3 separate regions of the Homo sapiens genome follow, and all the other regions are linked to region 1. Evidence: promoter capture Hi-C in 16 types of primary human blood cells and fetal thymus (Javierre and others, 2016). All regions are on one chromosome and are shown on one strand. The core of a region is centred on a gene start or on the middle of the fragment in contact, and the rest is flanking DNA. Distances in the headings are between cores, read along the strand shown. Region 1 holds the start of SMG7-AS1 (SMG7 antisense RNA 1). Region 2 has its middle 1.7 kb from the start of ACBD6. Region 3 overlaps ODR4 (odr-4 GPCR localization factor homolog).

Region 1 (2,784 bases), core at 173-2,672:
CAGGAATCAGGTAGCCAAACCAGACCAAACCAAATCAAAATAGCCCATTAAAATCCTTATTTTAACTATCCTATGAGGGCTGCATTCTTGGAAGGTTTTATATAGTTACATATCCTAAAGTACTTTGGGATAGCTCCTTAAGTGACTCCACAATACGAACCGAAAATATAACTTGTAAAACGTCAATTTCTTCAAGTCATGGATGATGAATTTTCCAGCTATTTCTCATACACTTCATATTATTATTGACTTCGTTCTTTATTTCAGCTTTTTGGCCCGAAACCTGACACAAAACACACATAATAAATATCCAAAAAGATTTGTTCTAAGAATGAAACTTCTTTTCCTAGACTCCTTTCACCAGACAGATGTATCTAGGGTTCGTTCTTCTTGATCCTCTTTTATCCGATGTTTTCCTCTCTAACTCAACGACACAGAATGACGACTTTTAAAACACTGCAGACCCGTGAGAAGAGAAAGGTTGCAGAGCAGGGAGGAACTTGGAGGTCTGCCTTTAATAATCAAGCAGGATCCCCACTGCGGGGTGCCTATCAGAGTGATGGCGCTAGTCAGCCTTCCGGCTTGTCCCCGGCTTAAATGATAGAAAACCACGTGTTAGCCTTCTAGGATGTGTTCCCACCCTCACCCTGGCCTCCTCGCGGCAGGCTCGCGACAGCTAGGTCAGGAGGGAGTACGCGGGTGGGGTGGATTTGGGGGAGGGGTCGACTCGCCAGAAGTCGGCTATCCCCGTCGGCAGGGAAGGCATCGCGGCTGTCGTGTGCCGCTCTCCTCCCTCAGGGACCCCGTCCAGGCGGGATCCCGCCTCCCAGAGCCCAAGGCAGTTGTGGGGAAACCCCTTGCCCTTCCTCGCCGCTTGGCGCTGTCGCCTCGCCCTCCCGACTCCAGCCCGCCGCCCGCCAGCCTCCAGGCCATGCATCCTCTTCGCAGGCCCAGCCCTCTCCACGCCCGGCTCTGAGAGGAAACTACGGAGGTGGTTCCCGCTCGCAGGCGGGTGGAAAAGCCCATGGTGAATGCCTCGGGGTGTCCCCCCAGTTGCTGTGGGAAGTGGGAAGGGAGGAGGAAGTGGACTTCACCACCGGGGAGAACTATATCGATTCCTAACTTGGGGGAGGCCTTTAGATGGAAGGGAAGCCAACGGGGAACCCTGGGTGGTTTCCTGGGAATCCATTGGCCAAGGGGAGGGTGACCCTGTCCGCACACATCGGTTACTATGACAATATAACCACAGCCTCCAGTTGCCATGGCAGCTGCCTATCCAATCCGATTGTCTTCTCTTCCTCTCCGGGCCCCACCTTATCCCCTCCAAGAGTCTCCCAGCGTGCATGGGGAGGGGCTGCAGCGAAGAGGAGAGGGGGTCCTTCGAGTCACTCTCTACGCGCGAGGGAAGACAGGCGTTGAGGGACTGCTGGGAGGAACTGTAGGAGGAAGGGGCGGCGTTTCCGGTGGGGAAGAGTGGAGGCGTGCAAAAAGGAAGAGGGAAATCGGCAGGAGTGATAAGAAGGGGGAAGACTTTGAGTGTAACTCCCGTTCTTTTGGCCTGGGTGTTCCCGGTGGTGGGATTGGGATTGCCCCCTTGCGCGGGAGGAGAAGGGTGGATTGGCAGGAAGCCGCCAAGCGCCACCAGCCGGTCTCTCAGAAGCCGCACAGGCGCCACACAGCTCGTTGATCCCAAAAGGGAGCGCTACAGAGAGGCGGAAATCACTGAGGGACAGGCGCTGCTGAAATCTCGCGAGAGGGACCCCCTCCCTCGCCCGGTCGCCGACTTCCTCTGCTTCTCCTCTTTCCCCCGCCCCTCCTCCCTCCCCCTCCCCCCCGGGTCGGAGTGTCCCTGCGCCCCACGGGCCAGAGCAGCAGCGAGAGCAGCTTTCCCCACTCCCTCCCCCTCGCCTCATTCACCCCCACCCCCCTGCCGAGCGAGGAGGAGCCGGAGGAGAGGAAGATGGCGGCGGCCGCCAGCACCCGCGGTGCCGCGGGGCCGCTCCGAGGAGCCTGAGAGACCCACGGAGGCTTCGCGGGAAGACGCGGCGGCGGCGGCGGAGGATGAGCCTGCAGAGCGCGCAGTACCTCCGGTGAGTGCCGAGGCCGGGCTGGTACGTAGGGGGAGCGGGCCGCAGGTTGGGGCATGGAGCAACAGACACCGAGGTAAGTCCGGGGTGGCGGGGGAGTTGCTGCGTCCTCTCCTCGCCGGGCAGGTCGGCGGAGACTGCAAGGGGATCTGCGGGAGGGGGCGGAACGGGTATGGGTGCCTAGCCCCTACCGCCCGGGCTGAGCTCTGGCGAAGCCGGCTCGTCCCGGTGCGAGGAGGGAGGTTGGGGAAGCGTGAGAATGTGCGCGCGCGCCCTTGGTCTCGGGTTTGCTAGCGAGGGGTGGAGAGAAACGTCCGGGGAGGCGGCGGCGACCCCGAGTGGAGGTGGGTGTGGAGGAGTCTGATCCCCGTGGCAGGGGACTCGTGGTGTGGCGTGGGATTGGTTGGAGCGATGCATGAGTAGAGGACGGGGAGGAAGTCTGCACACCTGGGGTGTTGGGGCGGGGGAACCGCGGAGGGCAGACAGGGGGAGAGGGAGACCGCAGGAAACTGGAGCTTGTTCTTCATTCTCGGGTTGGGAGTATTGAGGAATAATGTCATCTGTAGTTAGTTGGCGGTGTGGGGAGGCGTGAAGGGGAATAGATGGGGAAGTGAGGAAAGAGGGAGGCACTGTGGACAAGGTTGGGTTTTTCAGAAGAAACTGGGTTAGAATCAGTGTAGTCGGAAGATACCATTCT
Region 2 (2,784 bases), core at 173-2,672, 3.0 Mb before region 1:
TGTAGCGGTGAGAGCGGAGTCGCGGGAAACGCGAGGCTGAGGACTAAGGTTCCGCCTGCCCCAGATTGTGCGCCCCAAGCGCCTCCAAACAGCCCTGCGCGCGGATCTGTTGCGTGCGCGTTGGGCTCTGTGTTGAATAATGAAAAACTGCGAGATGGGGCTGTCCCGTCTTACTGTGTGACTGATGAGTGGAATCACTGCTCTGCGTGTTTCGCTCTCCACACCTTCGGAGCCCGCACCTCTCCGGGCCCTGAATAATAGGGTTTGGGGAGTTCGGGGCGCGCCTTAGCCCAGTTCTCATCCCGAGCTCTGTCTTTGACACTGTGCTTTGTAGACACTGTACAGTGAAACCAGAAGTACGGCACAGTTCGGCCCTAGAGGAATGCACAAAACTATTTTTTTAACTGTAACATTATGAGTGGTTATGTCCTAAATGTTAAACACAACGACGCACTATATATTCATTTAGTATTCAAAACAATGTAATAAGCACTATAAGAAGGGTACAAAGAAAGTGTTGTAAACAGTGGTTATTGACTGGGGTTAGGCTTGCGACGGGTGGACGGACGGCTGGACAGGATGAGGAAGCAATGAGAGAACACAGGAAGGTGAGAAAGCTTGCATCAGGATTCAACAGACATTCCTTAAGTCTCCAGAAAGTTCCACTGTTAGTCCCTGCTGTCAAGGTGCTCGCAATCCAGTCAAAGGGATGTTTAATGACCAAATTCTTGCAATTAAAAAGTGATTAAGAATAATGTATTGAGGACTTGATCATTACAACATAAGGTAGGTACTCTTATTTTACTACACATAGGAAATCAGCACAGAGTGGTTAAGTAACTTGTCAAAGGCTACACAGCTAGCAAATGGAGGAGCAAGGAAAAAGAAGTTAGCTTTCATGTGGGGTAATAATGGATGATGAACCCGACAAGTAGACTGAAGGAGATATAACATGGACTTTTATATCTTTGTTTCTAGAATTTTTATTAAAGTGAGAATTGAATATTATCAACGGCTTTTTTGGCATCTTTGGAGATTATCTGCTTTTCTCCTCTAGTCTTCGAAAGGAATTATATTAACAGTTTCTATTTTAATGAATTATATTAACAAAAATAAATTTGGGATTTAATGAATTATATAATAGCTAACATTGATAAATTAGTATGCATTATTTCAAAACCTCCTAGTTTTGAGCATTACTTCTGTTCTTGGAATAAACCCATTCTGGTCCTGGTTTGGTTTTTTTAAAAAATTTGTAGGTTCAGTTTGCTAATATTTTCATTATCTTTACAGTTCCATTTAAAGATGTCATTAACCTATAGTTTTCCTTTTCTATACTTTCTCAATTTTGTATCAAGGTAATAGAATCCTTGTAGAATGCATTTAGAAGTTTTCATCTTTTTCTGTATTCTGGAAGAGTTTACATAACATGGGAAAGAGAGCAACCAGAATTCTTTTACACTGCTGGTGTGAGCATAAATTGGTACAATCACTGTGGAAAAATGTTTGGCACTATCTACTAAAGCTGAACATAAATATACAACAATTCGACTCCTCCCCAGCGGGAATATATACATGGCATTCACCAAAAACATGTACGAGAACATTCATAGCAGCACTATGAACTAATTCCTAATTGCTCCAAACTGGAAGCTCCTGAATGTCCATCAACACTAGAATGGAGATAAACTGGTGTGCTTACATGATGGAATACTATTCATCAGTGAGAATGAACTAATTACAATGACACAGAATAACATGAATGAATCTCAAACATAATGTTGAGTATAAGCCTATACTCAAAAAAGTGCATATTACATGTTTCTAGTCATAAAAAATTCAAAATCAGGCAAAACTAATCTGTGGTGTTAGACTCAGGATAGTGGGTAACCTCAGGGTTAGTGATCTGAAGGGTGCATGAAGGGGACTTCTGGAAGTTGGATATGTTGTTTCTTAAGCCGAACATTAGTACACTGATGTGTTCACTTTATGAAAATTCATTTATAATTTATGTACTTTTCTGTATGTATATTTGAATGAAAAATGTATTATAAAACTAAAATGTAAGAAAGAAAAAGGAAAGAGTCCTTAACATTGAGAAGCTGGCCTGACACTCACAGCTAGGCCTTGTTATTCTCCTATTGAAGAGAAATAATCTCACAAAATAGCAACTGCAGACAAGGTCACTCTGAAATCATGATACAATGATACAAAGCAAACCACTTCATTAAGCTTTTCTAAGCACAGACAAAAAGCTCACTTTACTGACTACAAAATACAACACCTTTTTCTTGGCCCAAACAAATAACTACTACTACTTTAAAATTGCAGCTTTATTCTCATGCTAGCCACTTCTCTATAGATAAGACTGAGATGCCCAAGATCTCAATCTTGTTACAGTAGGTAGCTAGTCAGGAATGAGCAGGGCAGGAGAGGGCTCCGCACCACACGCACATATCAGGAATGTCGGGCAACCATCAGGTGATGGTCAAGCGGTTGTTAACTGTCTCACTAAAATAATAATTGATCACAGCTGGCACCAGGGAACAGCAGGCTCCTGATAGAAAACACCTGAAACTAGTGATCAGCAGCTTCCCGATAAGATCTCAGGAGTGGGGCGAGTGGGCTCAAGCATGTGCATGCGGACAGCCCACCCCAAGGGAAGAATCGGGGAGAAGTAATGCAAGACCGCAGAAGTAAGCCAATATATAAAACCCCAAGGCCAGGCACACAGTGGCTCATGCCTGTAATCCCAGCACTTTGCAGGGCCAAGACGGGCGGATC
Region 3 (2,784 bases), core at 134-2,633, 2.9 Mb after region 1:
AGGGCAGATCTACATGGTTCAACCAGGTAGCACCACTCTGTGAGGCCTCTCATTAGACAGCCAGACTGCCTCTCTTGAGAACAGTGTGAATTTCTTTTTAATTCAGTTGTAATGTGGGGCTCTTTTTGTTAGGAGTTTTCTATTTAAGTTTTTTTCTTTCTCTTTGTTTAAAACATTTAAGAGAAGAAGAGTCTTAGAGAAAGATGTGATCAGTAGAGATAAAAAGTCAGGGAGAAAGACCCTCTTCTAAATTTGTCTTAACTGGATAAAGGTTGTTTCTAAAGCTCAGGCAAACTGCCATCTTACAAATGAGTGTCTCATAATTTAAGGCCTTCCTTCTTTTTTTTTTTTTTGAGACGGAGTCTCGCTGTCGCCCAGGCTGGAGTGCAGTGGCGCAATCTCGGCTCACTGCAGGCTCCGCCCCCTGGGGTTCACGCCATTCTCCTGCCTCAGCCTCCCGAGTAGCTGGGACTACAGGCGCCCGCCACCTCGCCCGGCTAATTTTTTGTATTTTTAGTAGAGACGGGGTTTCACCGTGTTAGCCAGGATGGTCTCGATCTCCTGATCTCGTGATCCGCCTGCCTCGGCCTCCCAAAGTGCTGGGATTACAGGCGTGAGCCACCGCGCCCGGCCTAAGGCCTTCCTTCTATCTCTTTTTATGCTGTAGTATGTATTGCTCACGGACAGAGCAATTCATTCCTTTCAGTATTCTACGTGCTTTTTCTTCCAGAGTTCATTACTTTTTCCTCTCCTTCCTCTTAAGCTTGCCTGTTTCCTGGTCTCTGTCAGTTTCTTTTTCTTTTCAAAGTTATACATTTTATGAAGAAAAGAGGAGCCTTCTTAACTGAGACCTACTTTCTTTTCCTGTGTTTATTTGAATGTAACTTCCTGAAAATAACCTGTAGGAATAGTTACTCTTATTTTCTATCCCAAGATGATACTAATGATCAGAGTTTCAGGTCATGTGTGGGGAAGATACAATGCTAACTTGCATTAGCAGTGTTATTTTCACTCTTTTTTTATAGGAAACTTTCACTGTAGTGAAACTGAGCTATTGAATGTTCCCCTACATTTATTTTTAGATCTCCCAACTTTGGTTACTACTTAACTGATATTACAGCTGAAGAACAGATTGGGTGTGGTGGCTCATGCCTGTAATCCCAATGCTTTGGGAGGCCGAGGTGGGAGGATTGCTTGAAGGTCAGAGTTTGACCTAGCCTGGGCAACATAGCAAGACTCTGTCTCTACAAAAAAGTAAAAAAAAAAAAAAAAAAAAGCCAGGCATTATGGCTGATTGTTTGAGCCTGTAGTCCTAGCTACTTGGGAGACTACTTGGGGGGAGGATTGCTTGAGCCCAGGAGTGCAAGGTTGCAGTGAGCTATGATCACACCACTGCACTCCAGCCTGGGCATTAGAGCAAGACCCTGTCTCTAAATAAATAAATAAATACACACACACACAAAGAACAAAAAACAAAACAAAACAAAAAACTTGAGGAACATAGAATCTGTATCACTTTAAATTGTGTCCCAAATCCCCTTTGTTATTCTGTGGAAATGTATGTGGAAGTTCCCTACTGTCATCATTTCAATTAAAATAAGATACAAAAGGTCACTTGTTGTTTCATTTTACTAATATTTTCCGATCTGTTCATTTATAACTTATAAAACAAATATAACTAGAAAACTGAATAAGCATATTACTTTTTAGTTAATGTAATTCATTCACTCATCCAGTAAACCATTTTTAGGGACCACTCCATGATTTACATTTGAGTTGTCCAAATAAATAAGAAGCTGATATTAAATACATTAAAAGATAAACAACATGTGAGGGAAAGATTGTAAGGCCATCCTTGAAAATTAGCTTCCCTTTAGCTTCCATTATAATGTGGGTATTAATGATTTAACCTGTTACAAATATTACTCAGTTTTTGCATGTCATAAAAGCTAAGGAATTTAGGTATCACTCTAATTAGATTGAGGAATCAGATATCACTCTAACAAGCTTTTTAATTTGTTGTTGAAGTGTTCGTCACAAAAGGATTATGTGATTCTTGCCACTAGAACGCCACCCAAAGAGGAGCAAAGTGAGAACCTCAAACATCCCAAAGCTAAGTTGGATAACTTGGATGAAGAATGGGCCACAGAACATGCCTGCCAGGTTATCTTATTTTTTTGTTTATATGTTTAAGTTTTATTTCAAAAAAGAGCTAGAATCAAGAAGATTTAGTGAATGAGTAGAGAGAAGAGACATAGGGAGAAAGTAGCTAAAGATGACTGAGATTTTTAGTCTGGGTGTCTAGGAGGATACTGTTGGCATTACACGAGGAAGAAACAGATTTGGGATGGGTGAGTGGGAATAATGACTAAATTAATTCACTTACAAGTATTTATTGAATGAATTATATATCATCAAATAAATAATGTTAGAATAAGGTAAAAATAGAATTATTTCCTTTTCTGGGGTTGGGGGTGAGGGGAGGGAACTTAGAGGACAGGTCAATAGGTGCAGCAAGCCACCATGGCACACGTAAACCTATGTGACAGACTTGCACATTCTGCGTTTTTGTTTGTTTGTTTTAAGAAAAAGAATTTTCTTTAATAAATAAAAGATTTATTTCCTTTTCCAATCAACTTTAAATCTTTAAATCTTTTAAACTCAAACGTGTTTCTGTGTATGTAGATATATATATATATATATATGGACATATATTTGTGTCTGTGTATGTGTTTGATTATGGAGCAGTGTGTAGTTATATTTAAAAAAAAAATAAAATCTTGC

What was found. The method cuts DNA at HindIII sites, captures the fragments that hold promoters and counts their contacts. A CHiCAGO score of 5 or more calls a contact.
Region 2: a fragment that was not itself captured here is called in contact with the fragment with the promoter of SMG7-AS1 in region 1 in 1 of 17 cell types (activated CD4 T cells); the score reaches 5.2 in activated CD4 T cells.
Region 3: a contact is called between a fragment that was not itself captured here and the fragment with the promoter of SMG7-AS1 in region 1, in 1 of 17 cell types (naive CD8 T cells). The highest score is 5.8, in naive CD8 T cells.

What each region holds. Positions count from the first base shown.
Region 1 is chr1:183,470,560-183,473,343 of GRCh38, forward strand. SMG7-AS1 (SMG7 antisense RNA 1) reads right to left here and starts at 1,423. Exons shown (of 5, transcript NR_040063.1): 1 at 161-1,423. SMG7 (SMG7 nonsense mediated mRNA decay factor) reads left to right here and starts at 1,940. Exons shown (of 23, transcript NM_001375584.1): 1 at 1,940-2,090. The coding sequence starts at 2,062. RefSeq lists an enhancer at 991-1,622 and a silencer at 1,778-1,927. The HindIII fragment of the contact is 8,906 bases long and covers 1-2,784 here.
Region 2 is chr1:180,502,860-180,505,643 of GRCh38, forward strand. No RefSeq gene overlaps it. Among named protein-coding and RNA genes, the nearest start is that of ACBD6, 1.7 kb to the left of the region's middle. The HindIII fragment of the contact is 1,615 bases long and covers 616-2,230 here.
Region 3 is chr1:186,380,994-186,383,777 of GRCh38, forward strand. ODR4 (odr-4 GPCR localization factor homolog) reads left to right here. Exons shown (of 14, transcript NM_017847.6): 3 at 2,029-2,163. Among named protein-coding and RNA genes, the nearest start is that of ODR4, 6.5 kb to the left of the region's middle. The HindIII fragment of the contact is 1,244 bases long and covers 762-2,005 here.